Linked DNA regions of Homo sapiens: region 1 is linked to region 2. The links are contacts of gene promoters, found by promoter capture Hi-C in blood cells and fetal thymus (Javierre and others, 2016). All regions are on one chromosome and are shown on one strand. The core of a region is centred on a gene start or on the middle of the fragment in contact, and the rest is flanking DNA. Distances in the headings are between cores, read along the strand shown. Region 1 has its middle 13 kb from the start of OR5B21. Region 2 holds the start of TIMM10 (translocase of inner mitochondrial membrane 10).

What was found. The method cuts DNA at HindIII sites, captures the fragments that hold promoters and counts their contacts. A CHiCAGO score of 5 or more calls a contact.
Region 1: a contact is called between a fragment that was not itself captured here and the fragment with the promoter of TIMM10 in region 2, in 13 of 17 cell types (total CD8 T cells, naive CD8 T cells, naive B cells and 10 more). The highest score is 27.2, in total CD8 T cells.

The regions. Positions count from the first base shown.
Region 1 is chr11:58,519,521-58,523,138 of GRCh38, reverse strand. No RefSeq gene overlaps it. Among named protein-coding and RNA genes, the nearest start is that of OR5B21, 13 kb to the right of the region's middle. The HindIII fragment of the contact is 1,993 bases long and covers 338-2,330 here.
Region 2 is chr11:57,529,278-57,532,613 of GRCh38, reverse strand. TIMM10 (translocase of inner mitochondrial membrane 10) reads left to right here and starts at 1,860. Exons shown (of 3, transcript NM_012456.3): 1 at 1,860-1,956; 2 at 2,380-2,495. The coding sequence starts at 2,425. RefSeq lists an enhancer at 1,681-1,860. The HindIII fragment of the contact is 3,024 bases long and covers 1,687-3,336 here.

The DNA of each region.
Region 1 (3,618 bases), core at 85-2,584, 990 kb before region 2:
GGGGAGGCTGTCTGAGAAAGAGGCCAGCACAGTGGAACGTAGAACCAAGTAATGGAGAGGCTGTGTTTTCTTTTTTTGAGCCACTCAGTTCTACCATAGCAGCATCTTAACCATAGACTAGGAAATTATGTGAGCAAATAAATTCTCTTTTTTGTTTACATTGAACAAATAAACTCAGTGTTGGTACAGAACGTATATTGTATATCGTCATGAAAAACTAATACACAAAAATAGTGTTTGATCACTTCTTGATGCTTTTTACACCAGAGCACAGTGAAACTCTGTAGTTTAAGGTTAAGTCATCCTGTGGATAGCTCGCATATTTAGAGTACAAGCTTCTTGCTCCTGTCCAATTTTGCAGTATCTGTCACTATTACAAAGGGGAAGAAAAAGGTTGTGAGGGTGTTGTCATCCTCTAAGATTTAAAATTGTTTTGGAAATGATGGTATTCATGCTACTTTGTTTAATTATAATCCAGAGAGAACTATTACGTATTTGATATTACTGCAATACTCTTTATAGTGAAAACTAGTTTTAAAACATCCTGATACCCCACTAGCAAACAAAAAAGGAAGAAAAATTAGACGATTATAAGAGAAATCAATTTACATTTATCCTGTGTCTTAGTCTGCGCAGTTGCCAAAACAAAATACCATAAATGGGGTGTCTTAAGCCACAGAAATTTATTTTCTCATAGATCTGGAGATGAGAAGTCTCAGATTAAGGTCTGCAGGTTTGAATTCTGTTGAGGGCTCTTTTCTTGGCTTGCATATAGCTGCCTTCTTGCTTTGTCCTCACAGGGTGAAAAGAGGGAGAGAGAGAGAGACCACAAGAGATCTGGTGTCTCTTCTTGTAAGGAAACCAATCTTATCAGATCAGGGCCCAACCCTTATGATTTCGTTTAATCTTAATTACTTCTTTACTTAAAATACAGCCACATTGGGGGTTAGGCCTTCAACATATTTTGGAACGACACATTCAGTCCATTACATCCTGAAAGGTGCTACTTAAAGAAAATTGGGTTTATATGAAGTTAAGGAGGAAAAAGAAGACATTTATAGTGATTCTGAGAGGGGACCTTAGGGACACTTTTCAATGCTTTGGAAGTTTGAAGTGGTTATTTTCATTATGTTCAATAACACTTAGAAAATAGGACTTTCTGTCTCTAGGTGCTCTTGCATTTTCAGACATGAGTTAGAAAATATTGGAGGCTCAAAAATAAAATGAAGAACTTGGAGATTTTCCTAAGATAATCTGAAAATTTTGAAATGGAGGAAAAGTAGGACGGAAGAAAGTTACAGGATATATAAGATAATTTTTGAGTTGGGCAAGGTGAAATTTTCAGAGCTTTCAGTAAAGGAGGCAAGATGGGCCGTATAACACACTATCTGAGGAAAAGAAAGACAGAGTGGGGGGAATTGTCACTCAGTTCCCTTACACAAACTACCTGGTGAAGCTACTACTTACCCTAGATTGTCTCACAATTTGGGGTTTTTCTAGAAGTGGATGCTGAGACTAGGACTTGTGTATAGTAGTCTATTTAGGAGGCAATCTCTAGATGTACAGCTAGAAGAGCCAAAAGTGAGATATTTTCTATATTCTACAGGGATTACGCCTGTAATCCCAGCACTTAGGGAGGCCGAGGTGGGCAGATCACGAGGTCAGGAGATCGAGACCATCTTGACCAACACAGTGAAACCCCGTCTCTACTAAAATACAAAAAATTAGCCGGGTGTGGTGGTGTGCAGCCTGTAGTCCCAGCTACTCAGGAGGCTGAGGCAGAGGAATCGCTTGAACCCGGGAGGAGGAGGTTGCAGTGAGCCAAGATAGCGCCACTGCACTCCAGCCTGGGCATCAGAGTGAGACTCCGTCTAAAAAAAAAAAAAACCCAAAAAAACAAACAAACAAAAAAGAAAAGGCAAGGAAGCCAAATCAGTGTGCATTAATGAGCAGATTACTGTCTTGGGAAGTTGGAACTCAATACTCAGAGGACCTCTGGGATTCATTGTAGAGTACAAGAGGTGGTCCACCAACCCTTACACCCCACTTTGTCTTCCTTGTACTCAAGCTGCATGTACTCTGAGGCCAAAGAAAGCCCTTTTTCTAAATCACAGGCACTTTGAGTAGGAGCAGCAGTGTGTACCTAGCAGTAAGTGCCAACAGATAGGGGTGGGGAACTAATGCCATTTGTTGGGTAAAGTTATCGAGGGGTAAGGTTAAAAGGAAGAAAATCATACCAAAGGACTTCACATTACCGGTAATCACAAGACCGAATTTGTGGTAAGCCATGCATTTGCAAAGTTTTATAATATTCCCAGCTCTATGAAGCTTAATGTATTTCATCTAAGGTAGTATTAGTAGAGGGGATGACAGAAGGGAGAAAGTGGGCAAGGATTATTATTTCCATTTACCTGTGGAAGAAGCAGTTGATTACATGAATAGGTCAAGGTGACTTGATTTAGAAACAGAACTAAAGTTTGTTAATTCCTTGTCTGGGATGCTTTCTTTTAGGCTGTATATCAACAATGTAAAGTGCCCATGAGGTGAATTTTCAAGGGACAAGCAAGGGCACTAGGGCATCAAAGTGATCTGCTCTAGGCTACACTGTTTTGGTTATAGTGGCAAGAATAGCAGCCATGGCTTCAGGCAAACCAAAATTTAAAAGTTGAGTTTACCACTTGCAAACTGTAAGTGAATTTACCGCTTGTAAACCTTGGTTAAACCACTTATCTTCTACAAATTTAGGTTTCATGATATGTTAAACATGGGTAATAATATCCACGTGGGTTTGTTGTGGGGATTAACTGAGATAATACGTGAGAAAGGGCTTTGTAAACTGCCAAGTACCATACATAAAAGGCATTAACAAAATAGTCCAAGAGATATGTGAGGAAGTCAACACAGCATCCATTCCTAGCATTTCCATGGAGACCATGAAACCATAGCAGGCTTTTAGTTGTTTTTGTATGATTTTAGAAATCTTTTTTAAGGCTCAGGATGAAAGCTGATGGAATTGAAAATGCTGGGAGATTAAGAGAAGAGCTTGAGTTTGAGCTCATAATCTTCCTTTACAGCAACATATTGACAAAATAATACTCAGGAGTGAACGATCTCCATGGCACAGAAATCTATGCAGTTAGCTACTTCCCATAGATGGAAAACAGCTCACCCAGGTCAAGGAGGCATAGCCATGAGAAAAGAGCTCAGGAGCCTTCCAGGGCCAAGATTTTCCACTGCCTGCCATAGATCTAACTATAATCCAAGGGAAATTCCTAGGAAAATCTTTTTTAACGCTATTACTTAAAATAATTCAGCTTGGGAAAGATACAATTCCATATGCCTTCTGATCAACAGCTAGGTAATGGATGGTACTCTGTTAGCCAATACCAGACTCACTGACAGGAATATTGTGATCTTTTGGTATATGGATCATTTGAGACTGATGTAATTGAGTTGCAGTTAAAAGGTGGGGAAGACTTTATGTTGTGGGTCTTGACTTCAGGTTTGAGTTTCCATCCCAGCTCTACCACTTACTAGTTCTGTTCCTTCATGAATATCCTTTGGTTTTTGAGCATTTATTCACTCACTCAGGGAAAAGAAAGTTGAGTTAGAAGTGTA
Region 2 (3,336 bases), core at 611-3,110:
TGGTGCGATCTTGGCTCACTGCAACCTCTGCCTCCCGGGTTCAAGTGTTTCTCCTGCCTTAGCCTCCTGCTTAGCCTCTTGAGTAGCTGGGATTACAAGCACCCGTCACCACACCGGGCTACTTTTTTGTATTTTTAGTAGAGATGGGGTTTCACCAAGTTGGCCAGGCTGGTCTCGAACTCCTGACCTCAGGTGATCCACCCACCTCAGCCTCCCAAAGTGCTGGGATTACAGGCGTGAGCCACTGCACCCGGCCAATGTTGACTATATTTTCAAAGGCAAAAACCAAGGCAAGATATGTCCATCTGTACAAGAGTATCATAGCAGCATTATTGCATAATAGGCAAAAACTGGAAACAATCCAAACATCCACCAACGGGAGAATGGATAGATGAATTGTGGCATACTCATACAATCAAACACTAGACAGCAATAAAACAGAAGGAATAACAGATGCACACAACAATATGGAGGAAATCTTACAGGTACATTGAGCTAAAGAAGTCAGGCACAAAATAGAAAATAATGTATAATTCCATTTACACGAAGTTCAAGAACAAGGAAAACTAATTGATGGTGATAGAGGTCAGAATAGTGGTTAACTTCGAGAGGGGGTATTGATGGGGAAGGAACACAAGATAACTTTTTGGGGTGCAGGAAGTATTTTATATCTTGATCTGGATGGCGGTTATACAAATGTACATATATAGATACATATATATTTAATTAAGCTTAACATTCGTGTATTTTATGCACTTTATGAATGTTATACCCCAATCTTTAAAAATCAGGGCACAAGTTTGGCAAAGATGAGTCTTCAAAGCAGTAGAAAGGTCAATTGTTTAAAATTAGGATGGTCTTGGACAATTAGGGAAGCTTATGATGACCACACAGAAAATGTCTAGCCCACCTTTTCCAATGGGCAATGTGCCCTTGCGTCATTAATTTACATCTTGTAAATTTATTTTACCAGGAAATTGTGTGACAAATCAAGGGACTGAGTATTGTTTCCTTGTTTCCTTCTTTTTAGTGGGGAATGAGTGAATGGTGCAGTTTGAAGAACACATTAAGTCTTGAAAGTTGGAAAGTTCACCAGTACCCTTCTTTCCCTCACCCAAGATTAGCCCTGGTGGCAGCCGAAATTGCTTTTATTATCTCTTTGTGGCTGAGGACCTCTAACTGTTGAAGAAAACATATTTTACACGTCTTGTCTTTCTGCGAACAGGAAGCCTATCTCGCTTATCTTTGCAACCCCAGACGGGGCTTAGTGTGACCTACACACAGCAGTAATCGCACAACGTCCCGTGGAGCACTGCTTCTCAAATTTGGCTGTACATACGAATCACCTGGGGAATTTTAAATTGTATTGCTGCCTGAGGAATTTTAAACTGTACTCCCAGAGATTCTGATTTAATTGAAATGAGGTGAGTCCTGGGCACTGGGATGTTTAAAAACGTTCCAGGTGATTTTAACGCGAAACAAAAACAGAACCGCTGTTTGGGGGCGTTCTTCCTTCTCCACGCCTGATTTGCGCACAGGAGTCGGCTGTCTGGAACGGGGGTGAGGTTCACAGGTGTCTGTCGCCACGCCTCTTCCTACAGAACCAATAAACTGAAGCCGCTCGGTGACATCCCAAAGGACTTGAATTCTGATCGGGCTGCAGACGCTCTGCACCCCGCCCAAGCTTCTATGGTACTTTGGTGTCCTCTCTAGCACTGGCAAGTCGCCTTCCTCTTCGCCCGGCGCCAGCCGCTCCCTCTCTATGATCGCCGAGTTCCCGGCGCCGTCTCGTTGGTATTTAATTCCGGAAGCGAGTTTGAATCAAAGAAGAGGCGGGACTTTCCTCCCGGAAGTAACCCACGTGCTTCCGCTGGAGCCTCTCGGGAGGCGGGTAACGTTATAGTATTTGTCAGAAGTTGGGGTCTCCGTGGGCATTGTGATCCGTCCCAGGCAGTGGTAAGTGACACATGACCTCTGAATTCAATGTGGCCCTGATGATGGCGTCGCCATTTCAGAGGTGTAGCCTTTGGGCTGGGTCCCGGTCGCCTCTGTTCAGCGTATGATCCCATTCCCAGGGCCCTGGAGGTTCAGGTTCGTGGGTTAGAGAGTTCTCCTCCGGTCCTCGATCTCCTGAATAGAGGTGACCTCCAGGAACTGGGGCATCAGAGATCCGGGGCTCGATTTCCAGGCTCGCCATAGACGTCCTGTGCGACCTTGGGCTAGGCCTCAGTTTCCACATCCGTGAAATGGGGTGGTTAAGCTCACTGAGGTTAGTGGCCCGTGGTGGTCTGGCGCCCTGTGAGTCCTCTGTATCCTCTAGCCCCAGGGGTAGGAGAGTGAACGGCGGCGGTGGGTGCTGATGGTGATGTCTGCTCCCAGGATTAGGAGGCCAGAAGGAGATCCCTTCCACGGTGCTAGGCTGAGATGGATCCTCTCAGGGCCCAACAGCTGGCTGCGGAGCTGGAGGTGGAGATGATGGCCGATATGTACAACAGGTAAAGAGAACTATGTGCTACCCTGTCTTGGAAAATAAGTCTTGGTCACCCTTATCGAAGGTGAATGACTTATGACAAATTCCTTCCTGAATGTAGGGGAGCCTGAGGCCCATGCTTACCCTCCCCACACCCACCTTCAAGGTTGATCCTAATGTAGATGCAGTAAAGGGTCACTAGAATGAGTTGGGCATTTAGATGGGGATGGAACTGGCAATGCAGGAGCCAAGCAGGAAGAGAAACTCCAATCCAGGCTCTGGTTAGGTTCCAAGAAAAGCTGAGTATTTGCCTCTTGACAAATAGCACATAGCCAGCCCATTTAGTAGTTAACATTTTAAAACCCTTTATTCTGTGTCAGGCACTTGTTAATCTTCAAAATAATCCAGTGGGTTAATTTTATTAGTCCCGTCTTAAAATGAGGAAATTGATGATTCTAGAGGTTAAGTAACTTCCTTAGGGTCGGCAGCTGGTCAGTAACAATGCCAGAACTAGCACCTCAGTCTGATTCTGCAACTAGTGCTCATAACCATTTGGCAAATTTGGGAACAAATCCTGGCTCCACCAATCACCAGCAGTATAATTGGACATGTTACTTGCACTGTTTGACAATTGGTTTCCTCATTATGAAGAAGACATAATGATACCTACCTCATAGGACATCATAAATATTAAATCTAAAAATATATGAAAGCCCTTAGCCTCAAGCCCAACACTTAGTGAAATGTCTGCTATTTTTATTGGCTTAAGCTCTCTTGATTGGTTGGTTTATCCTGAAGGCTATAAATTAGAAGGATTTTTAAGTGTAGACTGTGAGGTCAGATGACCTGGCTTCATAACCCAGCTC